Linked DNA regions of Homo sapiens: regions 1, 2, 3, 4, 5 and 6 are each linked to region 7. Evidence: promoter capture Hi-C in 16 types of primary human blood cells and fetal thymus (Javierre and others, 2016). All regions are on one chromosome and are shown on one strand. The core of a region is centred on a gene start or on the middle of the fragment in contact, and the rest is flanking DNA. Distances in the headings are between cores, read along the strand shown.

Region 1 (4,018 bases), core at 158-2,657, 810 kb before region 7:
ATTTAGCCTTTGGCTTCCCTCCCCACTGTGCTCCATTCTTCTCCATAATGCTTTGTGCCCTGGGAAGCTTAACTGCATTGGTGGACTTGTTTATCCTCTGGATTCGAGATGGCTTTAGCTAGCTTGGAGATAAGAGGGTGGGGAGAGAGTGAAGTATTCGAGATCTTTATTCCTTTGGCCCCTTCCCTACCATGTTTCCATGGCTCACTCACTCTCTCTACTGAAGTCCGCAACTTTTGTCTAGAGTCCTGCTCTGTACACTTCTCTCTCTGGTTTCTGGCAGAGTTCCTTCCCCTCAGCCTTCATACCTAGATATTCGGTTGCAACAGTCCCCCACCCACCCTAAAGCCAGCCTGGGAATACTATACCATGTCCTATTGGCTCCCTAAACTTTGCCCATGTCTGCAAATAATTACCTTACTAAAAATCTCCTATAATTACGCAGGTTAATATGCCATCCATTTATTGCTGTTACCTTAATACTGTTGCTGTGATTACAGGAATAATTTAATATGCCTCTACATTTTCATAATTGTGAAATCACAATGTATCTTATCACTGATGCGTAGGTTCCATTGTGCCTCTTGGTCCCTGACCCAAAAGCTTTTGCTAAATCAATGACATATAATCATAATATATAGTCTATAATCAATGGCATGTTAGAATTGAGGAACTATGGTATATAGTGAAAGATACTCTAGTGAAGGGCTGAAAAGGGCCATCTCATGTTCTTGTGGAAAAAAAGACCATTTGAATTTTACTCCATAGGCAACCGAGAGCAATTCCTTGGCTTCTAGAACAGAGTGCCATAATTAGGCTTGTGATATTAAAAAAAAATAAACTTTCGACAGTACGAAGAGTGGACTGAATATAGAGGTCTGAATACAGGAAGGCCAATTAGGCTGCTGTTGCAATAATTCAGATGAAAAGCAGTGAAGGTCCAAGTAGGGCAATTAGAGTAGAAATAAAGAGGATGAGATAGATATAACAGCCTGATGAGCTGCTACAGTTGCAAGAAAAAGTGTTTAAATCATGATAGCTCAAGTATTGGGTTTATGACCTACAGGAAATCTGAAAGGATAGGTACAGACCCACAAAGCTTCCTTCTCCTAGGTGCTAGGAACAATAGCACCATCTACGTGGAAACTAGGGAAGAGTTCTCAACCTTATACTAATAACTTTTTTTTTTGAGATAGGGTCTCTCTATATCATCCAGGCTGGTCTCAAACCGCTGGGCTCAAGTAATCCTTCCAACATACCAAGAACTATGAAGGCCATAAGACAATAACAATTAAAACTGGATGATAGACCGGGCATGGTGACTCATGCCTTCAAAACCCAGCACTTTGGGAGGCTGAAGCAGAAGGATCACTTGAGCCCAGAAGTTCAAGACCAGCTTGGGCAACATAGTGAGACTCCGTCTCTATTCTAAAAAAATGGAATAAAAATAACATAAAAAAATGAAACTGGATGATGGGTAAATGAGATTTATTGTTATTCCTCCAGCTTTTGTTTAATGTTTGGAGTTTTTTATATTAAAAAATTAAAAAAATTTTTTTAAACTTTGAGAAACATCTCTCAAATACCGAAGAATTTGGACTAAATTGAAGAAAAAATAGAGAGACAAAAACATTAGAGGTTAGGAACACAGTCTCTGAGCAAGACTGAGTTCATTTCTAAATCAGAAACCAAGACCCACAAAATACTCAAGCTTCCCATAGCTTCAGCCCTCTTCCTCTCTCTCTTAAGCCATAGAAGGGGATAATCCTAATTCTAAAACTTACAAAGCCTTGACTATGTACCAGGAACCATTTCATACATCTTACAAGCATTAACTCATTCAATCCTAACTAGTCTCCTGTTACAGATAAGGAAACTGAGCCACAGAAAAGTTCAGAAGTCCAAGGGCAGCTGGGCGCAGTGGCTCACACCTGTAATCCCAGCACTTTGGGAGGCTGAGGCAAGTGGATCATGAGGTCAGGAGATCGAGACCATCCTGGCCAACATGATGAAACCCCATCTCTACTAAAAATACAAAAATTAGCTGGGTGTGGTGGTGCGTGCCTGTAATCCCAACTACTTGGAAAGCTGAGGCATATGAATCACTTGAACCCAAAAGGCGGAGGTTGAGGTTGCAGTGAGCTGAGATCACGCCACTGCACTCCAGCCTGGTGACAGAGCAAGACTCTGTCTCAAAAAAAAAAAAAAAAAAAAAAAAGAAAAGAAAAAGAGAGAGAGAGAAAAAAGAAGTCCAAGGGCACACAGATGGTAAGCAACAGACACAATCAGACATTCTGGTTCCAGAAGGTGAGTTTGTACATACTACATATCACAGAGTATAGTGTAGATGTTATTACAAAGAGAATATACCCATTTCTAATATTATGGTACAGTTTACAGTTCCCAGGTAAAAAGAGAGTGGACAGTCAAGCAGAATTCACCAACACTTTTTGGGTGAAAAGCAGATTTGGACAGAACTGCTCATAAATGAACCATGGAAAAAGTCTACTATAATAAACAAGTACACAAACTAAAAGAAAGAAAACATCATGGTACTATTGGATAATAGTTCAGAAAAAATACAGGTTTTTACATAAAAGTTTTTATATAACACATTATATAAGGGTTTTTATATAACACATTAAACCAAAAAAATTGCTAAATAATCCAAAGATTTAAACTTAAGATCTAAAAACATGAAACTGCATAAAAAATAATTAAATACACACACACACTCTCAGTGTGCAGATGGGTGGATTAAAAAAAAATATATAAATAGGGCCAGGTGCAGTAGCTCATGTGTAAGTGCCTGTAATCCTAGAACTTTGGGAGGTTCACAAGGCAGGAGGATCACTTGAGCCAGGAGTTCCAGACCAGCCTGGGCAAGACAAGGAGATTCTGTCTCTACAAAAATTTTTTAAAAATTAGCCAAGCATAGTGGTGCACATCTGTAGTCCTAGCAACCCAGAGGGGTGAGGTGGACGGATCACTTGAGCCCAGGAGGCCAAGACTGCAGTGAGCCATGTTCATGCCACTGCACTCCAGCATGGGTGACAGAATGAGACTTTGTCTCCAAAAAAAGTAAAACATGAATACTTTTATATTATAAATATTTATATATACTATAAATATATATTCTTATATACATATATTACATATAAAATATTTTAAAAATATTTATTGATAATTATTCAGGATTGATAATATTTATTTGGGATTGAGCATAGCAATGGGAACATGGTGAGCATATTCAGGGAGGTAATGAAAGAAAAGAGTTGTTAAAGAAAAAATGAAAATATTACATAAGTGTCTGTAAACAATTATTCTTCATTACAAGAATCAATAACAAGGGTGGCATCAGTGCAAGGCTGGACAGGCAGTTGCTAGGCAGATGTACTCACAGAAATATTTTTTGTGTATGGTTGTGATGGCCTTTGCGCAAGGTTGTGGTTTTTCGCAGTCAGTCTTTTGTGATAGTTCTTATCAGGTATACAAGCATGACAACCCTCCCTTTGTGGCCTTCTCTGGCTCCATATTTCAGGGTTTGACACAAGTGACTCCTTTTTGATCCTGACAACTTTCATACGTCCCCCTCTTGATCAAAAGATTTTTCTACAAGCATTGCTGATCAGTTACCCATAGTTAGGGCTTGGTTTTTTTGGGGTTTTTTTTCCCTACTTTTAAAAAAAGTAGGCCAGGCGTGGTGGCTCACCCCTGTAATCCCAGCACTTTGAAAGGCCAAGGCAGGCAGATCACTTGAGCTCAGGAGTTCGAGACTAGCCTGGCCAACATGGTGAAATCCTGTCTCTACTAAAAATACAAAAATTAGCCAGGCATGGTGGTGCATGCCTGTAGTCCCAGCTACTCAGGTGGCTGAGGCAAAAGAATCACTTGAACCCGGGAGGCAGAGGTTGCTGTGAGCCAAGATTGCACCATTGCACTCCGGCCTGAGCAACAGAGTGAGACTCTGTCTTAAAAAAAAAAAAAAAAAAAAGTCTAAACAGTGTCTTGATATGTT
Region 2 (3,556 bases), core at 430-2,929, 740 kb before region 7:
TACCTTCTAATTAGAACAGTTCTCCATGCTTCAGTTACATGTAGTCAATGTCATTACATAGTAGGTTTTTATACCATAACTTAGAGATATGAAGGATTTTTCAGTTTTCTATAAATGTGTGGGCCACTTCCTAATTTCTGTTTTTTTCTAGCAAATTTATTGCAGATAACCATTGAGTCCTTTTGTATTTATCCAGACTGCATAGTCTTAGGATTCTGTTTAGATGTGCCATTATAAATTCTCATGATGGACTTACTTGAGAGACCTTTGAGCACCACAGAAGAGAAAGGAGGCAGCAAAAGGGAAAAAGTATTTTATTGAAGGTCATTCCCACAATATCCATTCATTTTATGACATTAGTAGCGCTAATTTTATAGTCACTTAGTATCCCGTCTTTTTTTGTTGCCTAGTGGAGGCTGTCATTGATGATGTAGTTGGGAGTTACCATTAGGTAGTGACTCAGCAAACCTTATGTGGTCTTAGGTTGTCTCACCTAAACTATATTTGTGTGTTATACTATGGAATTTGATTTAAAGATGCCAACTTCTTTCTTAAATCTTTTTTTTTTTTTTGAGATGGAGTCTAGCTCTGTCACCAGGCTGAAGTGCAATGGGGTGATCTCGGCTCACTGCAACCTCCGCCTCCTGGGTTCAAGCGATTTTCCTGCCTCAGCCTCCCTAGTAGCTGGGATTACAGGCGCATGCCACCACGCCCGGCTAATTTTTGTATTTTTAGTAGAGACAGGGTTTCATCATGTTGGTCAGGCTGGTCTCGAACTCCTGACCTCATGATCCACCTGCCTCGGCCTCCCAAAGTGCTGGGATTACAGGCGTGAGCCACTGCACCCGGCCCTTAAATCTTTACCTGAAATATTCCTAGATGGGGTTAACATAGCACCAGGAGAACCAGACTAAGGATAGTAGAATCATCCATGGTCTGTAGACACAGCTAAGATCATTATTTCTGCCATCTAATATTGGAGACAAGCAAAAGATTCTTAAGAGTTGCCAATTTTTAAATCAATTTTGCTGTAAAAGACTACAGGAGATCAAATGATCTAAGCCTCCTACCTTCAGGCAAGCAACTAAGTCATCGCAAATGTTATTCTGTTATTTTGATACTTGGGAAATAGTTTAGAAATACAGACTGCAGGGTTCCATCTTATATTTAGGTGATTATAATCCCAAGATGTAGGGCTTGTAACTATATTTATTTATTTATTTTTCTAAAATCAGTTTTAAAATGATTATTATGTTGACTAACCAGTGACAGTTTGTGGTGTTTGGGAACCGTTGATCTATTCTACTCTTGGATACCTTCAAGGATAATGACTGTTTCAGTCATGCAATCCTGATGGTCAGGAAGTTCATCGTTTCTGGTTTTTGTTTTTGTTTTTGTTTTTGTTTTTTTATGTTTGTGAAAAAAACTGTGTATTAACTTCAGAAATTATTTCATCTACTTAAAGCCACCTTATACCTCTCTTCTCAGTTTCTTATATATATACATATGTATGCACTGAGTTAACTAACATAAAATATATTTTTGTCAGAGCAGTCACTAGAAGTTTTTTTGAAAATTATACCTGTCATCTGAAGTTGATTATTTAACTGCTTTTAAGATCTGTTTTGTCCATTTTAGAAATTGACTCCTTAGAAACAAGTAAACATGAACTTTTATCTGTTTATTTTCATCATATGTTCTAAATGTATATATATGTAAGCACCTAAACTCTATATTACATATTCTGTGTTTTTAATTGTTATTTTCTTTTACCTAGTCTGTACAACCATATCCAGTTGTCTAGTAATTTAATGCCTGGCTGTGACTACTCACTTTTTAAGGTATGCTTAATTGGTGATTTTATATATTTATTATAGGACTGGGCCATTTGGTATTCATTAAGAAATCTTACCATAAACTTAGGAATATTTGATAGTGTGATGAATAGGCTGATAATTTAATTGGCTGTAGTATGCTTTAGTATCAATATATCTTATTCTATTTGTTTATAAAAATTGAGAGAGAGTTACTCTGTGGGCACATACTGAGATTGATTTTGATGAGAGCTTTGATTATCCAGTCTACTCCTTCCTTTATATATTTGAGCAGACTGAGTTTATCAAGCATTCTTAACCTTAGGAGCATGGGTCCTTGGAATACTTATTATTGGGCTTTGTCAGTTGGTAGAGGGACGGGACATTCATTAACTGAAATTGCATAGTTTTTGCATGTATTTTCTAGCTGTAGAAATGTACAGAGCTTCTAAAATATGTTTGCTTCTCAGAAAGTTTAAGAACCTTCAAATTAAGTGAAACCCAAGATTTGATAGCTAATAAGTGACAAAGCCAGGACTCTAATTCTGCAATGTCATGCCTCTGGCTTTAAGTCTTATGTGCTGTTTAAAAACTACATCAATGGCAGTTTTATGGGCAATAAAGTAAGAAGTTGACAGTGTTGTTGCTTAACTGTTTCTAATGATTATCTCTCAAAGTCAAGGTAACAATGTTGTGTAATACTGTTGTCTTCTAACCCTGTAGGATGGTATTGAGCCTATGTGGGAAGATGAGAAAAACAAACGGGGAGGACGATGGCTAATTACATTGAACAAACAGCAGAGACGAAGTGACCTCGATCGCTTTTGGCTAGAGACAGTAAGGTTTTAAAAGTATAAAGCAGTTTTAGAGGTAGTTTTGGAATACTGATACTTAAGATATGTTATGTTTTACATTTGTTACTTAATTTAAGAGAAGGATGCCCAACACTAGAAAATCAGGGTCAGTAATTATTTTTGTTCTGTCATATGACTCCTGTTTATAGTACAGTGAAACATCCTACCACATTATAAGTCAGATATTTTAAGTGATTGGCAGTTGACTCTCACCACAGTAAGCTCACTGTGGTCATTTCATTAACCTCAAAATTATAGAACCTTACATTTTGTATGATTGAAGTTTTTGCAACCCTCTTACAGCATTGCTATATGTATACTAAACTTTTAAATACTTATATTTTTAGAGCGAGGGTCTTGCTCTGTTGCCCAGGCTGGAGTGCGGATATTTATTTATATGGCTCATTTCAGCCTCACCCTCTGGGTTCAAGTGATCCTCCCACTTCAGCCTCTTAAGTAGCTGGGACTACAGGTGCATGCCACCATGCCCAGCTAATTTTCTAATTTTTTTCCAGAGATGGGATCTTGCTATGTTGCCCAGGTTGGTCTCAAACTTCTGGCCTCAAGTGATCCTCCCACTTCAGCCTCCCAAAGTGCTGGAATTACAGGTGTGAGTCACTGTGCCTGTCCCACTAAACTTTTTAGATTAGTGAAGCAAATAATAAAATTGTTGTGTACTACCATTTGACCTACATGTTGTGATATTAACTGGAACTTCTGGCTTTACAAGACAAATTAAATATGAGATAATAAGCATTTTCTGTAGACAGAGGTTCCAAACCCCAAGCTTATAGGAGCGGGGTTTGTAGTCTCTTTTGTATCCCTAGCACTTGAAACCGTGCCTGGTTTATAGTTAGCACTTGTTAAGTTAATCACTTTAAATGTTTG
Region 3 (3,991 bases), core at 116-2,615, 760 kb before region 7:
TTTTTTTCCTGGTAGTGGGTTTTTTTGTGTGTCTGGGAGGAAGGGTGAGGTGTACCATTCATGCCTTTTTTACTAGTTTATTGGCAGTCACATGCATTGGCAAGATGAGCAAAGGTGTTGAGCCTGAGGCTGTAGAACAGAGCACAGTATATATTATAGATTTATGTTGCCTAGAAAGAGAATCTTTGTAACCATATAATTTATTATTCAGTCCTGGCCACCTTTGGGAGTGAGAGTTCTGTTAACAATTATACTGAAACAACAAACAGGTAGAACTAGGACATGTGGTGTTCTTAGCCGTAAACCCTGGTAGTCCTGGATTTAAATGACATGTTTACTTTTCCAGGACTTCAGATTTGTCTGAAGAGTGGAGAGAATAATGGTTGTTTCACGGGATTATGAAGATTGACTATATTGAGATGATTTATAGTATGTTGAGATAATATGTATGAAAATAATGTAGCACATGGCCTGGTAGTTACTGCTTAGTAAATGTTCCCTATCAAGTAAAAACTCATAGTTTGGATGAGGTGTGAGCTTTTCAAAATCATAAAGCACCATCCTTTTCTGTTCTTACTGTGTCTGTCCTTCTGCTCATTATTTCATACCTTTATTTAATATAGTGACTTCAATTTACTAGAATGTTGTATTAGTACCTTGTAGAAATAATTGCAGCTGTCTTTGCCATATGTAGCATTTACATTTCTAATATGGACACAGCTGGTTTTCCAGTTCAGCTACAGAAAGTGAAGGAAGGGGTAATATAAGGAAGCACTACTGGATATGAGTCACCAATCATGTTGTTATCCATTATTTGGTGCTGTAGCATTGACCGAACACGTTTATATTTTTGTGTCATCAGGAAGGGGGAGAGTGTTGGTATCAGAATTATTTAGGTGTGGTAACAGTAATCTGGGTAATTATTTCTAACTTAATCACGAGTTCTTTCTCTTTTCATATCCCTACTTACTGTGTGTATGATTGGGGGTGGGGTGAAGGTGGGGAAGGTCTGGTGTAAGGATCTGAGGATAGATAGAAATTATTGAGCCAGGACAATAATTTAGAGAGCATACCCTAGGTAGTTTAGGTTACCACTCCTTGTTCAGATATTACTGGGATATGAATGTTAGTGATTTATCTTCTATTGTTCTTAAAATTTTTTCCTCATCTTAAAATTTAAAGGACTGGAACTTCTCCAGAGTTTGAAGTCTAGTTCAGTATGCCGCATTTACTCAGCTCTTACCTTTCTAAACTCTTACATTAATGTCATCTCAAGTACTGATTGCTCATGGTAGCCGACAGTTATGGATCACTTCAGTGCCAAACTCTTGGATTGTTGATGAAAACCCACACGGCACTTTTTACAAGGGAAGAAACTGATCCTTACAGGGATTTTAAGGACTTACCCTAGATCACTTAAATCCCTATGGTACTCTGAAAGTTTTCTCCTATCATACTCATCTTAAGACTTAAAGGACTCATCAAGTTGGGGTTAGAGGTGGATCCAGGCTGTCTTGTTGAGCTACCCATTTTGCAGTATGGCTCCTAGTGCATCAGGGACTGATAAACCTGGGATTGCTTTTTCTGTTATGAGAGGAAAACTGTAGTAGTGAAGTCAGAGCCTGATATATACAGACTGTCAGTTGCAGCATTATTTGGAAGCACAGAAGATGGTATGTGAATAAATGTGCCTGATATAGAATGTCTTTCTCCCTCTAGCCCCCTTTTTTGTGCCTTTTTTGATGCTTGATTTCAATGTCCTTTATGCTGTTCCTTGGTAATAGATAGTTGCAGCTCAATGCTATATTTTAGCCATTCATGAGGCCAAAGATATGATGCCTTCAGTACAGAAAAGGGGAAATAGGGTATCTGGGAGTACCTTTAAAAGTAGGAAAAGTAGGTTTCCTTACTTCAATTTACTTTAAAATGACTTTATATTGCATTAATCATTATTGTTCTGGGAGGAATACCTATATCTACATATATCAGAAGGAATTTAGGAAGGAGGAAAGTGATAAATATAATTTAAAAAATTTTTTTCTTTCTAAAACAAATCATATGAAACAACTCAGCATAGTGGCTGGTCATATAGTTTGCTCTGAATAAATACTTGGAGAATGGCAAGCCAGGTAACCATTCACTTAACATTTTTAGCTACTTTATAAAAAGCAACCCTTATTTTGCATTTCCCATGTATCAGACAGTTTAAATGCTTTTATTTTTTAATTCATTTAATCCCCATTGTGATCCTAGGAGATAAATGTCACAATGCCCATTTTAAGATGAGGAAACTGAGGCCACGGAAGTTACTTGCTCTGAATTTTACAGCTGTGAATGGCAGAGCTGGGATTCCAACATGGGGAACATGGCTCTAGAGGGTGTGATCAGAAGCAGTGCATCTCATATTCTGATGACAATCTGGTTTGTGTTTGTTTTTAAAGTTTCATTTCATTTAATTTTTTAGAGACAGAGTCTTACTCTGTCACCCAGGCTGGAATGCAGTGGTGCTATCATAGCTCACCGCAGCCTTAGAACTCCTGGACTCAAGTGATGCTCCTATTTTGGCCTCCTGGGCTCAAGAGATTCTCCTGCTTTGGCCTCCCAAGGTGTTGGGATTACAGGGATGAGCCACCATGCCTGGCCTTTTTTTAAAAATTTCTAATATAATACTTTTGTAAAATGATAAAGATGAAGACATGCATACAATATGTAAGCCTGAATTTGATTAGTTTCAGCAGATACAAAATTGTCAAATTGCTACAGATTTTCAAAGTGTTTACTTTGCATTTCTATACTTAACCTCACTGTCAACCATAACCAGTTTGTGGACCAGCAGTAGTAGTCTGTGGACTATACTTTGAGTTACTGGTTCAAACCATTATTAGTGCCAAGAGGGACTACTGATTATTCCATACTTCAAATAAGGTGTTGGGTGATTTGTCTTAACCTGGAAAAAAATTTTTTGGAAGTTCCTGTGAGTAAGTAGATATTTGTTGAATGAAGGTAATGGAGGACACAAATGGGGTATTCTGAGGGGAAAGGCTCATCATTATTTCTAGAAGTGGTTTATATGTATATTTAGGTTGAGAGTTGCTGAGAAATCTTGAATGTTCAAAACTATGGAAAAGCACATCATGGTTTTGGAATTTAAGCAATGTAGACTTGAACATGATGAGGAGAACCTAAAGTTTAGTCAGATTTATTGAAAACACCACAGAATGATGCTAGATCTGGGAAATATTTACCTCTATAATATTAGGATTGTCCTGTAAGATTAATATTATACCTGTGCTAATTTTTGCAGAATGTAGTAAAAAGCTACCTGACATTCTTTGCAGCCAGTTGTTAGACTTTTCTCACCCTTGCTTGCTTTTTTTCTTCGCTTTCAACTTTCTCTTGTTGCTATGACAGTTTATTCAGCCCTGGGTTTGCTAAATTACAATACTGAACATTTTTATTTGAAGCTGATAAACTCAGCAAATCTTAAACCAGGTTTAATACTTTGCTCTCAAATTGGTTATCTTTTTCTCTTCCCTCACTTGCCATTTGTATTTAATCTCTTTGACCTTCTAGTTAATGGCTTTCATTGCCCCCAAGATGAAAGGTACACTTTTAGCCTGACCTTTGAGGCCTTTAACAGTCTCACTCCAACCTACCATTCTAGCTCTTTGGTTTCATGAACCCTCTCTTTCAGCCACATTGGTCACTACCTGGATGAACACAGCACCATCCCATGGCCTCGCTCTTACTCCCTATTCTACCCACCTAAAATTCGTTACACGATGCTTTTTCAAGGGAAGATTGCCTATTTTAGGGTAAAAATGTGTTTGACTACTTTGAGATTAGCCATAATCTGCTAAATTAGCCTTTACTTTTTTGTCCAAGTAGTTTATAAACCTAGAAATACTGGTCATTTAATTTTTTTTCCTTTTTTTTTTTTTTAAATTCCCTGATAGAACCTGAGATCGGTCATTTAGGATGTAATTTCCAG
Region 4 (3,837 bases), core at 930-3,429, 780 kb before region 7:
ACTCATAAGTTGTTGCTACAGTTAACTGACTTTAGGACATTAATATTACATAACACTAATGAAGAATAAGTATGTAAAATATACATTTTAAACCCCTTGACAGGTTCTGATGTCCACTTTTGTCTAGATCTGTTCCTACCCCACTACACTAGTGTCAGTAAAAAGCATTACATCTGGTAATAGGGGCAAGGCTACGAGACTGTAAACTATAAAACAATAAGGAGTTCTGTGAGGTTTCTGTCACATTTAGGTCCCTTGAGTTTTGCAGAGTTTATGCAGTTTTGTTTCAGCAGCACAGAGCGGAACTGCAAAGTGATGAAGGACTATATTTTGAGTTAGTAAATATTAATAGCTCCTGATATATCCAGGGTGTTGTACCAAGTGTTCTTTAGGATACAAAGTTATACAAGATGTGAGTCTTGTTGAATGTAAACCCTTAAGGAACTTAATTCCTAGGGATGTGGTTAGTGATACAGTATTTGTTCTGGTACAGACTTTGGGAGATTTGGATGTTATGTTTAAATTTGGGGAGTAGGGGAACCTAAAAACAAAGTGTGTGAAGCTGGAAACTAAAGTATTTTGAGAATATATGTAAAATAGTATCGAAGTGTTTAGTTTTAGTGAGAAATGAATTTTTTTTTTTTCGATACTGACTTTCACTCTTGTTGCCCAGGCTGGAGTGCAATGGCGCGATCTTGGCTCACCGCAACCTCCGCCTCCTGGGTTCAATCGATTCTCCTGCCTCAGCCTTCCGAGTAGCTGGGATTACAGGCATGTGCCACCACGCCCGGCTAATTTTGTACTTTTAGTAGAGATGGGGTTTCTCCATGTTGGTCAGGCTGGTCTTCAACTCCCGACCTCAGGTGATCCGCCCGTCTTGGCCTCCCAAAGTGGTGGGATTACAGGCATGAGCCACCGCGCCTGGCCTGAAAATTTTTAGTACTTTTAATATACCCTTGTGCACAGGCTAGTTATGTGGAATTATTTTTGACAGTTTTAAATAGTTGGATTTTGTGTGTAGGGGTGCAGGATCTTGCTCTGTTGCTGGGGCTGGAGTGCAGTGGCGCGATCATAGCTCACTGCAGCCTCAAACTCCTGGGCTCAAGAGATGCTTCCATCTCAGCCTCTGGTGTAGCAAGCACTACAGGAGCAGGCCACCACGCCCGGATAATTTTTAAACTTTTTGTAGAGATGGAATCTCGCGATGGTTACCCAGGCTGGTCTCAAACTCCTGGACTCAAGTGGTCCTCCCACCTTGGCCTCTCAATATGTTGGGTTACAGGCGTGAGCCACCGAGCCTCGCCTGGATTTTTTTTTGAAGCAACTGATTAGAATTGGATTGTACTTGAGATACCCCTGCTGAAGGCTGCAAAAATCATGTTTTTTCTTACTTCAGCTAGTTTGTGAGCTTCCATAATGGTTTTCTGCTGTGCATAATCATAAACACTTAAAAAGAGCCATGGGCTTTTCCTGCTTATCCCATCATGCATAGGTATCTGGATGATTTTTGTCTATGGACATTACATAAAATATCATTTTCAGTTTGATATTATTGTGTGGTTTTCTCTTTGTATGAGTTGAGTTACATGAAGATGTGGCCCACAAATATTAAATTTGTTGAGAAGCTTGAAAGGGAAAATTAAGGGAAACATTTTACCTCTTAACGGATAATTTGGCAAAAATTTGAACGTTAGGGCAAACGGTACTCTGATGTTATTCTATCGGCATTTGAATTGTGGCTGGGTCAAAATTAGGTTTAATATTAGTCTGTGAAAATGGCAAGGCCATCTTACCTCCAGTAGGTCGTGTTTCTTTGTAGCTTTATCTTCATTCTACATCGTTCATTATTAGAATTAAAAAAATTTTTTTTTGACTTGTAGTTCCTTTTGAGGTAAGAGATTAATTTTGATTTCTTTAGCTTAACTGAAAGTGTATAATTTTACTTGTTTTTACATTGTAGCTCTTGAATTTTTTGAAACCACGCTAATTTCATAAGTGAATCAACTTGGACAATCAGCTAATTTAATGCTTCCTTTTTTATACTTTGGAAACATGCTCTGTACTACACAGCTTATTAATAAGAGTAAATAAGGTTTATATACATATTGACAAATATTTGTTGTACTATATAATTCATATTAATGAACAATTGAATGCCAACCAGACTATGCAAATTAGTGGACTTTTTGCTTAATGAAAGAACCCACTATATCAGAGTTCCTCGATAATCCACGTAAATTTGGCTCTGGGGTTCATATTCCAGATTTCTTCAATTAAAAGAAAAAAATATACTTGCTGAGTGCGGTGGCTCACGCCTGTAATCTCAGCACTTTGGGAGGCCGAGGCGGGTGGGGATCACTTGAGGTCAGGTGTTCGAGACCAGCCTGGCCAAAATGGTGAAACCCTGTCTCTACTAAAAATACAAAAATTAGCCAGGCCTGGTGGCAGGCGCCTGTAATCCCAGCTACTGGGGAGGCCAAGGCAGGAGAATCGCTTGAACCTGGAGGTGGAGGTTGCAGTGAACCGAGATGGTACCACTGTACTTCAGCCTGGGCGACAGAGCAAGACTCCATCAAAAAGAATAAAAAAAAAAACAGAAACAAATTTCACACTTCATTTTATAATCTGAGTTAATGAGCATGATTATTAGACTTAGAGAAATTCAATGTAGACACACAGTTTATACACAGAAGTTGCAGAGGGATAATATGCAAAATGAATTATGTAAGCTTACTCTAGTTTGGACAGAAAACTGTAGGCAAAAAACATTTAAGTAAAATATTGTTTAATTTACATAAAGTTAAGAATATGGGCCGGGTGCGGTGGCTCATGCCTGTAATCCCAGCACTTTGGGAGGCCGAGGTGGGTAGATCACCAGGTCAGTAGTTTGAGACCAGCCTGATCAACATGGTGAAACCCCACCTCTACTAAAAATACAAAACTTAGCTGGGCGTGGTGATGCGTGCTTGTAATCCCAAGGTACTCAGGAGGCTGAGGCAGGAGAAGCTCTTGAACCTGGGAGGCGGAGGTTGTAGTGAGCTGAGATTGTGCCACTGCACTCCAACCTGGGTGACAGAGCGAGACTCCGTCTCAAAAAAAAAAAAAATAAACAAAAGAAGTTTCCTTAATCTATTAGTACCGGTGAGTTGCACCATCTTAGTCATAGAGACTTTTTTGAGAAGTGGAAATGAGCATGGGTTATAGTCTCATCTTAATATCTGAGTGATCTTGAAGACTGAAATTTCTAAGTCAGCTGAAAGTCGGAATAAGATATATTACGGTGATTTCAATTTTTAAATGCAGTATTCAAAGGTGACAGTTTGTCAACTGTAAGGGACTAAAGTTGACATTCCATGAATGTTTTATACTCATGTATATCCATGCATTTACATACTATTTTCCCTCTTTTCTTGGAAATTCACATTGCTGCTTTTTAATTATCAATCCTTAGCCATTAGCAAGAAATGCAAAGCCTGTGATTCACAATCCTAAGATGTTCTTCCCACTCCTATCCCTACCATAAAAATCACTAGTGTTCCTTCAAAAGTCCCTAATCATGTCTCCAGAAAAAGAAAGGGGCTGGGCTTGGTGGCCCACACATGTAATCCGAGGCTTTGGGAGACAAAGGCAGGAGGATCACTTGAGCCCGGAGTTTGAGACCAGCCTGGCCAACATGGCGAGACCCTGTCTCTCCAAAAAATTAAAAAATTAGCTGAATATGGTGGTGCACACCTGTGTCCTAGCCTCAGGAGGCTGAAATGGGAGGATCCCCTGAGCCTGGGAGGTCAGAGCTGCAGTGAGCTGTGATCACACCACTGCATTCCAGCCTGGGTGACA
Region 5 (3,872 bases), core at 245-2,744, 920 kb before region 7:
GCGAAGGATATGAACAGACACTTCTCAAGACATTTATGCAGCCAACAGACACATGAAAAAATGCTCATCATCACTGGCCATCAGAGAAATGCAAATCAATACCACAATGAGATACCATCTCACACCAGTTAGAATAGCAATCACTAAAAAGTCAGGAAACAACAGATGCTGGAGAGGATGTCAAGAAATAGGAACACTTTTACACTGTTGGTGGGACTGTAAACTAGTTCAACCATTGTGGAAAACGGTGTGGCAATTCCTCAAGGATCTAGAACTAGAAATACCATTGGACCCAGCCATCCCATTAATGGGTATATACCCAAAGGATTATAAATCATGCTGCTATAAAGACACATGCACACATATGTTTATTGTGGCACTATTCACAATAGCAAAGACTTGGAACCAACCCAAATGTCCATCAGTGATAGACTGGATTAAGAAAATGTGGCACATATACACCATGGAATACTATGCAGCCATAAAAAAGGATGAGTTCATGTCCTTTGTAGGGACATGGATGAAGCTGGAAACCATCATTCTCAGGAAACTATCGCAAGGGCAAAAAACCAAACACCACATGTTCTCACTTACAGGTGGGAATTGAACAATGAGAACACTTGGACACAGGAAGGGGAACATCATACACTGGGGCCTGTCGTGGGGTGGGAGGAGGGGGGAGGGATAGCATTAGGAGATATACCTAATGTAAATGACGAGTTAATGGGTGCAGCACACCAACGTGGCACATGTATACGTAACAAACCTGCACGTTGTGCACATGTACCCTAGAACTTAAAGTATAATAAAAAAAGAAAAAAATAAAAATAAATAAATAAATAAAGGAGTTGGAAAATGAGCGACACTGCCACAAGTGTGGTGTAATTTACAAGTGGTATGATTTGCTCCTCTTGCAGCTGGAAAGCTTGGTAAAAGTTAAACACTATCAAATGTAGACAGAATCTTACTACACTGTCTCAAACAGTTCCAGCATTTCTAACTGCCAGACCACTAATATATCCCTCCCCACCTCTACTGTATTTTTTGCCCCCGAGATTCACTGCATTCATTCTTAAAGTAGCCCATGGTTTATGAAATTCAGAATAAGATCTAAATTACTTCAATGATATGTTCTAAGAAAAAAAGAATCATAAAGAAAGTGTACTTTATTGTTGGCAGTGATTTTAGTGTAGTAATTTTGAAACAATTTTACATCTGTCTGGTAGTATCAAGCAAATATTAATCTCCCAGATTACTTGTTTAGGAAAAAAGGTATTTTTACAGTGAAAAGGTCTGACAAACACCAAGTGATCAAACTTTGCATCAGCAATAAGGTGACAACAACATTATGTGCCTCACGTTGTACAATGAATGGGGCATACAACTGCCATTTCTGTAGTCTTCCACCAAGATGTTTATCCTGCATCTATCCTCATGAGGAACAATCAGACAAACGGACTTTTGTAAACTAACCTGATTTTTCAAGTGTCCATTTCGTAAGACATCAAAAAAGGTGTGAGGGTTATTCTAGCATGGGTGTCCAACCTTTTAGCTTCCCTGGGCCACAGTGGAAGAAGAATTATCTTGGGCCACATGTAAAATACACCAACGATAGCTGATGAGCTCAAACAAAGGCCTGTGCATAATTTTCATGATATCCACCACCACAGATAAAAGATCCTCGCACTCAAAGGATTAGACACGGCTGCTAGAGTTAAGAAGACTAAGACCAGGTATGGTGGCTCACTCCTGTAATCACAGCATTTTGGGAGGCCGAGTCAGGTGGATCACCACGGGTCAGGAGTTCGAGACCAGCCTGGCATCAACATGGTGAAACCGTCTCTACTAAAAATACAAAAATTAGCCTGGGTCATGGCGGGGGCCTGTAATCCCAGCTACTAGGGAGGCTGAGGCAGGAGAATCGCTTGAACCCAGGAGGTGGAGGTTGCAGTGAGCCAAGATTGTACCACTGCACTCCAGCCTGAACAAGAGTGAAACTCCATCTAAAAAAAAAGGAGACTACAGATACATGACAACTAAATGCCATGAATTTGGAAGCTTTAAATAACATTTTGGGGGAAAATTAAAGTTTATATCCTATACATTATATAATTCTGTATTAATACTAAATTTCTAATTGTGTTATGATCATGTAAAAGAATGTCATTAGGTTAAGAGATACATGCTGATGTAGTAGGGTGAAGTACGATGTTGCTTCTTTCAAAAGAAAAGTGCTTATACAGAGATAAAGCAAAGGTGACAAAATGACATTTGTTAGATAAAGGTAAGGGATATATGATTATTTCACTGTACTATACTTTCAACTTTTCTGTAATTTGAAAATTTTCAATATAAAAAGTTGGAGATAAAAAATAAAAATTTTAAAAGAAGGGAAAAACAGGAAGGAAATCGCTTACAGATACCATGAGGGTAGAGGTTAAGCAAAGGGGAGCATCCTGCTCTCAGTTTTAACCAAATCCAATGAAAACCCAGAAGTCGTTAGAGAACAAACTGAGGAATCAAGCAAACAAATTCCTAAACCTCATCAACTCTTGCCTATTAATTTAGATATGTGGGTGCAAGTGGTATAAAGGTGTTGGTTAATCCTTTTTATCAACAAAAGACATAAAATGAAGTTCATGTTTCCCTTCTTCCAAGTTATAATTCCAAAGGAGTTGGAAGACTGGCAGGGGGAAAAAATTATTCTAAAAGTTAATGTAAAAAAAGAAGTTAATACTTTGATTTTTTTTTTTTTTTTTTTTTTTTTTTTGAGATGAGGTCTCTCTCTCTCACCCAGGCTGGAGTGTAGTGGCACAATCATAGCTCACTGTAACCTTGAACTCCTGGGCTCAAGCGATCCCCCCATCTCAGTCTCAAGAGTAGCTAATGCTACAGGCTCGCACACCATGCTCTGACTTGTTTTGTAAAAAGGTGGCAGAATGATGAAACTAGGTGTTTTGTCACCTAAATCCAATGAACATTTGTAATTAGATATATGCAATTAGACTAGAGTCCATATTGTTTTAAAATCTCCCAAACTAAGAAAAGCATTATCACCAGTGTGGTGTTTTATCTTTTAACCAAAAAACTATCACACCAAGATCTTTCTTCCTTCAGCTTATATTCTAATGACAGACACTGAATAAGCCCACATTGTTAATTCCACAATCAGTACATAAAATGCTCCCCTAATATTCAGCATTCTGTCTTAAAAGCTCTCAAAAATATGGTTGCATCTCAAATGCTGCTGGCACTCTACTGAGTTTATGTACAGCCATTACACCTGAAAAAACATTTCTACTCAAATGGTCATGAATTTATTTTAGATTATCAAACAGCCTCCCCATTCCCACCATTTCCCTCTGAAATCCCAAAGAAATGCAGCAAAGTTAATGACTACATGGTAGGATAATCATTCAAACTTTTTAATCTCCCTTTACACATTATATTAACATTCATATTGCAAGGCATTCCATTCACAAATATTACAGTTTGATAAAAACTTCACACACATACTCCCAAAGTCTATACCAGATTCAGTCAACTTTACTAAATCATTCAAATAATAAAAGTAATGAAAACATTATTATATTTTAAAGCAATAAGGTCTGAGGCACTCTGGGAAAGATGTTCTCTTACAAGTATAATGTGTCAGTGGTATGAAATTATATTACAAGGATGCCCAGTAATCAAGTACACTCTAATGACAATGACTTTGTGATTTGATATGTCTTCACTGGATACACTCCTACTTGGACAACTGCTGAAAGGAACGTAGATATGGGGCAGCTGAGGTCATTTCTAATGAGGTTCCCAACTATGTAAAGGAGAGGTGTGTTTCCACACACGAAGGACAGCTGCATCTCTACTGC
Region 6 (3,911 bases), core at 498-2,997, 900 kb before region 7:
ATTATCTGGCAGAAACTCTAAAAATTATTTCAAACTTAAGCTTTCACAAATGACAAATTAAACATTAAATTTCTTCAATTCCACCTCCTGTATTAATGTTTTAAAATAATCAACAATGAGTAATAAGTTTTCAAAATTTCACCTGATACACAAAAATATCATATTCCTTCATTTCCATTCCTCCAACTTGAGTAAAAATTTCATCTCCCATACACATTAAAGAACGCACTAAAAACAATAAAAATACTGGATCAACATTATTAGAGATAACTGTATGTTTGTCTAAGAACTCTGTCCTGTTCACTATTCTGTTGATGACATCAAGATTTGGAGAGACTGGGGAGGATTGCAGGTAGCACACTGGTAATAAAGTTGATATGGTAAGGATTTAACCAGAAGGCTGTTTGCCCATTTATTAACAGTTTGTTAACAACTCCAACAAGATGCTGTTAAGAACTTTCCTTTCTTTTTTTTCTTTTCTTCTTTTTTTGAAATGGAGTCTCGCTCTGTTGCCCAAGCTGGAATGCGGTGGCACAATCCACTTCCCAGGTTCCAGCAACTCTCCTGCCTCAGCCTCCCGAGTAGCTGGGATTACAGGCGCCCGCCACCACACCTGGCTAATTTTTGTATTTTTATTAGAGACAGGGTTTCACCATGTTGGCCGGGCTGGTCTCGAACTCTTGACCTCAAGTGATCTGCCAACCTCAGCCTCCCAAGGTGCTGGGATTACAGGAGTGAGCCACCATGCCCAGCCCCTTTCCTTCTCTTATCCCCATAAGATACTGATTAAACAAAAAAGCCTCGATAAGTTGTTCATATGTACAAAGACAGACAGCCTGAGAAAAATCCTCCAGAAATACACCCCTACCCATTACTACAATAGTAAGAAATCTGGAAAGCACCAAAATCCAACAGAATAGTTACACAAATTGTAATACTATAGAATATAATACATAGCCATTAAAAGAATGAGGTAAATCTATGTCTGTAGGTATATATGCTAACTTGAAAAGATCTCTATGATAGTTGAAAAAACAGCCCAGTTACACATTAAAAATATTATGATTCCATTTAACTTAATTTAACACATACACATACGTGTGTGCATTAATGCACAGGAGAGAGAAAAAACCTAAACGGTAATGGGATATCTCTAGAGAGAAGAGAGAGATAAGAGGGGAGGCAAGTGTAAAGGAGGATCACACATTTTTCACTCATAATCTTCACTTTTAATTTTTTATGAGGAGAACATAATATTTATGTACTGGAAAGAATTTTAAAAATAGAATAAAAGTTGCACTAAAAAACCATCTGCACAGTCCTCTTCATTTATCAGGCAAAGAAAAGGAAGATAAATCACAGAAGAAACAAAGGATGCTAACCAATCATCTGGTCTATCACCACCAAGAGATTCCCAGATCATCCTTTTACCCATTACTGCTAACAACCAAAGCTAACTCAGGTAGAACAGGGGCAACCTGGAAGGTACAAGGAATGCACAGAACTGCAGCGCCCAGTCATTCTTGGCCCATCAACACACAGGACTGCCAATAGGTGCTCAACACTGAGGCTGACCTGCATCAATGGCTTGCATCAGGCACTCATATGTGGTCTGAACAAGTTTCCGTGCTCCATCATCCACTTCTCCAACAAAAAATGTCTCATTCAGGTCCCCATGATAACCATTGCGATAAAGAGTGATATCCACTGCAAGAGAATGTGCAAATATAAAGACCATACTTATTTTCATTTCAAAATTCAAGTGTTTTTCCAACATGACAGCATCTAGCAACTTAATGAAAAAGACAACTTCTGCATTCTCAAATTAGACACCAATGGATAGATAGTTATTGCCCAACAGAAGCTCCCTGAGATGTAACTGAACTCACTGTGGAGAGCAGGAATATGGCCATGTAACATAAGCCAGATAGTGGGTTTTTATACTCTTATAGTAATTGTATCACTTGTGGCAAAAGAAAAATGTATGTGGGACACAATCATGCAAAATAAATTACCAGAGTTAGTAACATTAAATTGAAAACTTTGCTACATTGCTACAAAATACCATTTTCACTTATCTTTTACAAGTTCCTTACTCCTGCTAGGGAATAACAGAAAAATTTACACTGCTCTACACCTGTTTTTTTAAAACTCATTTGCTTTTCTCTTATTTGTGAATATTCATTCTTCTCTTTGTCCCCATGTTTAAGAATATAGATTACTATTATACTATATATTATATACTATTATACCATTATAATGTATCTAGAGAGCACATTGAGTATTTTTAAACCACATATTTCAATCAACCTGTAACATCACAATATAGATATTTTGGTTCTAGCACAACACATACATTCCTGAAAAACCTCACACATTCTACATATAATAAAAATAACAGGCTTTATATTTGAAAAACAGGGTTGGCCTCAAAACCTATGGAACTTTATGAACAGATACCCTAACTAAAGCAGTAGCAATTCTAATAAAAATAGTGTCATAGTTAAATTTCGGCTATCATTCACAGCTAGCATCACAATCAGTCAATTATCTGCAGCCTCTAACACTTGGGCTCATGCTTCCTCATTTGATAGGTAGTTCCTTTAAGATATCTTATTAACAAAGAGTCTAATTCCATCAATATTAAAATGCCATCTAAGCCAGGCACGGTGGCTCATGCCTGTAATCCCAAGACTTTGGGAGGCCAAGGTGGGCAGATGCTTGAGTCCAGGAGTTTGAGACCAGCCTGGGCAACATGGCAAAACCCCATCTCTACAAAAAATACAAAAACTGAGCTGGGCATGGTAGCAATGAGCCTGCAGTCTCATCTACTTCTGAGGTGGGAGGATCACCTGAGCCAGGGAAGTCAAGACTGCAGTGAGCCATGGTGGCGCCCCTGCACTCGAGCCTGGGTGACAGTGAGACCCTGTCTCCAAAAAATAAAATAATACACAAAACAAAAACAAATGCCATCTAGGAAAGCCTTCATTAATGTCTTTTAAACTACTTCCTCTACTCTCTATACTTGTAACTTCCCAAGGTAGCTTAACATAGGGGTCTTTAAAGCTACTTCCACTCAAGTAAGGCACTTCTGCAAGATTTTCAGCTTTCCTTTAGGTCTTCATATATTATGAAGGGTTTTCCTGTATCTATAACAAAGCCTGCCCTGGTCTCTTCAAAACCATTAGTGAACTTCTGGGGGAAAAAAACTAGACTCCACATTTCACTGACATCTTTGACCTATTTACCAATCACATATGAGATAAGCATTAAAGAAATACACTGCACCAAACACATCACACCGGAAGTATCTTAAAAGCAACATGCACAAAACCGTTAAGAGAGCTTCCTGTAGATTTAAGAGTTAGTGATACTGAATTTTAAAAAGGAAAAAGTTTAAGTACAGGAAGCAAGTCAAGAAAACACAAGTCACTGTCAGATTCCCCAAGCTTTGTTGTTTCTTTGCCCATGGTGATGAAAGTAACATATTTTTCTTACCATTAACAATGTCACCTTCTTGTAAGGGCCTTCTGTCTGGTATTCCATGGCAAATGACTTCATTCACTGAGGTACAACAAGACTTTGGGAAATTATAATAATTCAGGGGAGAAGGGTAGCAATTTCTTGCAATACATGCCTATAATACAGAAAAAATAATTTGGAATATATAAAAGAAAAAATCTGTATGAAATTACAGATTTTAAAATTTGAAAAATGTGAAAACAGTTGGACACATGCTACTATGAAGAACTCAGTATTTTATTTTAGTAACAGTACTGGATATTATCTTAAACAATATACAACAGGGTTTGTGCCAGTCAGGTACACATACACAAACCAGTTTACTGGTAACTGCACAAAGGAAAAGTAAAATGACATACAGGTTAAGTATTCCTAATCCAAAAATCTGA
Region 7 (3,976 bases), core at 702-3,201:
GGTCCTGCCATTGATCAGCTACCCATCTCTGTGAAGTCCTTGAGGAAAAAGCATTCACTCAGGAGGCAGGCAAGGTAAATAAACAGTGTTTTCCTAGCTGGTACTCAGAAACTCTCCCATAGAGGTCTGCAAATGAGCTAGGAAGGGTGCTATGAAGAACTCCCTTTGTCTAAATTAGGTTACATTCAATGGCTGAAAATCAAATCAGACAGAAAGCATATAAAGCCAGCTTTACCATTTCCATTTCCAATCTCCAAAAATATGTATATTCAAGCAAAGAGTAATGTAGACTACTGCAGACAGAATGGCCAGACAGGGCTTGAAATTCTGCATCAATGCTTACGGCAACCATGGCCTAGACCTGAGTATGCAGTTTGGGTTGATATCCTTGTTTGGATCATCAAGGTCAAATGATGTCCTTAAGGACATAGCGGGCAAATTTACAAGCACCACTGGATTATCATACACAGCACATGAATTTTTCTCTTTCATCTCTGTGACTCTTTCTAATATGTCATAGTAAATATCTAGATCTTCTGAATGGGTATAGGTGGCAGCTTGGAAAATAAGGTTAAAACAACATTGAGAGAATTATGAGGGTTTCTGACAGAATGCAGGGAGAATCGAAGTTGGTGAGATGTTTCCAAAATATTGCAATATTCATTTTCCTACCATTAAAAAAAATCTTTGCCACCTCTCGTTTTGGATTATACGTCTCTTTCCCCATTAGAGAGAGAACACCTGAGGGCAGGGACTTTCTTATGCCTTTGTATCCTCATAACTTAGCAGGGATGGAACCTACAGTATATGCCAATTCGTGTTTTTTAAGTGCATAAATAATTTAGCTAGCTATTGAACAGAAAAAAAGGTACTACAGATACATCCTTGAGAAGCATATAGCCTCGCAAGGAGAGGGTTCCGACCTATATGGCACAATGAAGCCACAGTAAATGTTGCACAGGATTGAGTGGCAAATCGTGTATTACAGAGTATGAAAACTATAAAAACTTGTAGTAGGAACAAATTAACGTACTGTAGACCATTTGGAGGTGAGGTATGATCAAGGTAGGATTTGTCTAAGCCTCTGAGGATATTTATAATCTGGACAGAATTCTTGCTAGAAAAAACAGCCTGCGAGATGCAGAGGTGGATTCTGACATAGATTCCTTAAGCCCCAAGGACAAGCAAGGTTTCTTTTGCCCAAGGTTCAGAATCATTGGTTTGGTGGGGTGGACTGGGCTTTTTCAGTGCCTTCGCTTTGCTTTTTAAATATTGATGAATCAGTATTGTGGTTACCTGGCATACGACAAAAGAGGCAGCTTTCAGTCACTTCCACGGCTTCAGTTGGTGAGCTTTTCGCCTCCTTGCCTGGTGTCCTCATTTCTTTTTTTTTTTTTTTCTTTTTTACCCTTATCTTATTTGTTATTTTTTTTTCTGGGTTCTCCATTTCTTGTCACTGCCCTGAGCCCTGGGTTTGTCTTAGCAGTTTGGACTATCTACAGGTTAAGATCAGAGGTGCCTTTTCTCTGTGAGTACGAGTGGGGCTGCAGTAGAAGCGGGGGAGAGCTTGCGGAACCCCAAGCTCTCTGCTTCATGCTACTGCATTTTTCTTTACTAGGTTCTGTTGAGTCGGGAAGCAGATCAAGGTCAAGTTAGTCCTCACCCTTCCTAACGCGTTTTCTAAGGTTCTTCTGCATACTTAAAAAAGTTCGGGACCTAAGTAGTTACCGGGACCCCAAGAGCTACGAGGTTTAGGCCTGCCTTCTTCAAGGCGCGCCGGGTTCCGGGTAAAAAGAGCCGGGAAAGGGTGGCTGCTCGGTGCGCATGCTCCGAGGGCTCGGCCCAGGAAGGCACCTCCACTTCGCTCCCTAGAGACTGGGCCCGCCTCCTCCCCAGAGACTGGGCCCGCCTCCTCCCCAGGCTTCCGGGCGGAGAGAAGTGGGCGGAGTCAGGGCCGGAAGCACCGGGGCGAGCGTCTAATCCCTAATACCCAATTTTGGTGGCGTGCACCTGGCAAACTGATGATTGTGTGGGACGTCTAATCTCTAGTCGCTCACCCCTCTACTTTACCACAGAGCTAGAAATCGATTTGAGGAAATCTGGTATCAATGAGCGGGCGGGGAGACAACCCCACCCCTAATTTCCCTGTTTACGGAAGTTCTTTCCCGGCCTCCTCAGACTGGTGTCGGCTTCCTTTTTCTCCACACTTCTAGCTACCTTGTTTTTATCGTTTTCGGCACCTGCCCTTCCCCAGCGCCCCCACCACCCCGAGCACTATGTATGATCGGGCTCCCCGCCTGCTCAAATTGGCTGAAGGTGGCAGCACTGAGGCCCATGTGGGTCCTGGATCCTACCAGGTACCTTTCCTGAAGCAGCAGGCGACAGGTAAGATGTAGGAAGAGGCAGAGCTCCTGTGACAGGCATCCTATCTTCAGCCTGCTCCGCTTCTGCGTGCTTGTGAGTTAAACATAGAGCGGAATAGTACCATTTTGTAAACATAACAAAACATGAAGTAGGCAGGGAAAACACTATACTTTTATTTTACAGATGAGACTGATAGTATCACTTGTCCCATTTCAAAAGGCTGGTGAGCATATGGCTAGGACTTTTGATTCCGCAATAGTTGTCTACATCCTACTTTTGATTGTGCAGTTTAGGTCTAGGATTTTGATTTCCTGGCTGTGTTGACATAATATATGAGTCTCCAAATCCTGTGCCCTTACCTCCCGCTGTCTCGTTGCTTTGTAATCCTGCCTGCCTCACATCTTTCCTCCCATTAACCAGAGACATTTATTTATTAAGATGTAGCTTATATTTCTATTTTGCAGTATTATTTAAAGATAGTTCCGTTTTTTTTTCAGACAGATTTTTCTGACCGTCCTCATCTCTTTTAACACACTTCAGGGGAGCCCCTTTTCTCCACATTCTGTAAAGAAAAATTATATTTTTGACCAGTGGAGTGGGGATGGATAATTTAAATAATATTTGCTCTCCTCGTTTGTTTGCAGTTAGTGACTTAGTCAAAAATAAATACATCAATTTTGCTTTCTACTTTTTCTATTCTGGTGATTTTCTGGAGCTTAATACCGTCCAAATGATAGTTTTTCTTAACCTACATTTTCCCCATACCTACACTATGTATTTTCAAGCAAATGCCAGGATCCATTATTCTGTTACATAACTGATCAGATAAGGGAAGGTTTAGGTTTCTTGGGGTGGAGTACAAATTTGACTTCTGTCAGTGTTTCACATGTTGAATTGTACTGCTTCACAGTATCTGGTATCACTATTCTTGCAGCTTATTCTATCTTTATTTTAATGGAGTTGGGCATTATAAGCATTAATTCCCCTAACAATGGCTAACAATGACCCCCTGTGACACTTTGCAATCCTTAATTTTGACATAACTGACCACTTTATTCTTGGAAACACTTCTTTCCAAAATGTAACATCATTTCCTCCTGTTTTTTTTTTTTTTTTTTTTCCCAACTACTGTCTTGGAAGAGTGTCTGGGAACATGATTGGGACCTAATAAACATTTGTTAAATGCCGAATCAGGGCATCATCTTCTCCCCCTCTCCAAGCAGTCCTTCATGGCCTTCTTTAAATGTTTTTATGTTTCTTGTTGATGAAAAGAGTCAAACTCTGTAAAATATTTTAAGAGATTTATTCCGAGCCAAATATGAGTGACCATGGCCTGTGACACAGCCCTCAGGAGGTCCTGAGAACATGTGCCCAAGGTGGTTGGGGTACAGCTTGGCTTTATGTATTTCAGGGAGGCATGAGTTATTAATCAAGTACACTTAATAAATACATTGGCTTTGTTCAGAAAGGCGGGACAACTCAAAGTGGGGGCTTCCAGGCTATAGGTAAATTTAAACATTTTCTGGTTGACAATTGGTTGAGTCTATCTGAAGACTGGCATCAAAAGAAATGTTCAGGTTAAGATACAGGATTGTGGAGACCAAGTTTTGTT

Evidence for each region. The method cuts DNA at HindIII sites, captures the fragments that hold promoters and counts their contacts. A CHiCAGO score of 5 or more calls a contact.
Region 1: a fragment that was not itself captured here is called in contact with the fragment with the promoter of STPG2 in region 7 in 2 of 17 cell types (naive CD4 T cells and endothelial precursors); the score reaches 7.9 in naive CD4 T cells.
Region 2: a fragment that was not itself captured here is called in contact with the fragment with the promoter of STPG2 in region 7 in 2 of 17 cell types (M2 macrophages and total B cells); the score reaches 5.5 in M2 macrophages.
Region 3: a fragment that was not itself captured here is called in contact with the fragment with the promoter of STPG2 in region 7 in 2 of 17 cell types (total B cells and monocytes); the score reaches 5.5 in total B cells.
Region 4: a contact is called between a fragment that was not itself captured here and the fragment with the promoter of STPG2 in region 7, in 12 of 17 cell types (naive B cells, total B cells, fetal thymus and 9 more). The highest score is 12.6, in naive B cells.
Region 5: a fragment that was not itself captured here is called in contact with the fragment with the promoter of STPG2 in region 7 in 7 of 17 cell types (total CD4 T cells, monocytes, total B cells and 4 more); the score reaches 9.5 in total CD4 T cells.
Region 6: a contact is called between a fragment that was not itself captured here and the fragment with the promoter of STPG2 in region 7, in 10 of 17 cell types (total CD4 T cells, naive CD8 T cells, total CD8 T cells and 7 more). The highest score is 10.8, in total CD4 T cells.

Annotation. Positions count from the first base shown.
Region 1 is chr4:98,951,340-98,955,357 of GRCh38, reverse strand. No RefSeq gene overlaps it. Among named protein-coding and RNA genes, the nearest start is that of EIF4E, 24 kb to the right of the region's middle. The HindIII fragment of the contact is 612 bases long and covers 1,102-1,713 here.
Region 2 is chr4:98,886,174-98,889,729 of GRCh38, reverse strand. It overlaps EIF4E (eukaryotic translation initiation factor 4E), which reads left to right. Exons shown (of 7, transcript NM_001968.5): 4 at 1,778-1,841; 5 at 2,538-2,651. Among named protein-coding and RNA genes, the nearest start is that of EIF4E, 41 kb to the left of the region's middle. The HindIII fragment of the contact is 3,556 bases long and covers 1-3,457 here.
Region 3 is chr4:98,905,183-98,909,173 of GRCh38, reverse strand. All of the region lies in intron 1 of EIF4E (eukaryotic translation initiation factor 4E), which reads left to right. Among named protein-coding and RNA genes, the nearest start is that of EIF4E, 22 kb to the left of the region's middle. The HindIII fragment of the contact is 9,850 bases long and covers 1-3,991 here.
Region 4 is chr4:98,923,351-98,927,187 of GRCh38, reverse strand. All of the region lies in intron 1 of EIF4E (eukaryotic translation initiation factor 4E), which reads left to right. Among named protein-coding and RNA genes, the nearest start is that of EIF4E, 3.9 kb to the left of the region's middle. The HindIII fragment of the contact is 1,104 bases long and covers 1,628-2,731 here.
Region 5 is chr4:99,062,342-99,066,213 of GRCh38, reverse strand. It overlaps METAP1 (methionyl aminopeptidase 1), which reads right to left. Exons shown (of 11, transcript NM_015143.3): 11 at 3,405-3,872. Among named protein-coding and RNA genes, the nearest start is that of ADH5, 25 kb to the left of the region's middle. The HindIII fragment of the contact is 1,133 bases long and covers 928-2,060 here.
Region 6 is chr4:99,042,975-99,046,885 of GRCh38, reverse strand. It overlaps METAP1 (methionyl aminopeptidase 1), which reads right to left. Exons shown (of 11, transcript NM_015143.3): 7 at 3,499-3,637; 8 at 1,576-1,707. Among named protein-coding and RNA genes, the nearest start is that of ADH5, 44 kb to the left of the region's middle. The HindIII fragment of the contact is 3,409 bases long and covers 43-3,451 here.
Region 7 is chr4:98,141,451-98,145,426 of GRCh38, reverse strand. STPG2 (sperm tail PG-rich repeat containing 2) reads left to right here and starts at 1,951. Exons shown (of 11, transcript NM_174952.3): 1 at 1,951-2,385. The coding sequence starts at 2,277. RefSeq lists an enhancer at 2,125-2,224. The HindIII fragment of the contact is 14,460 bases long and covers 1-3,976 here.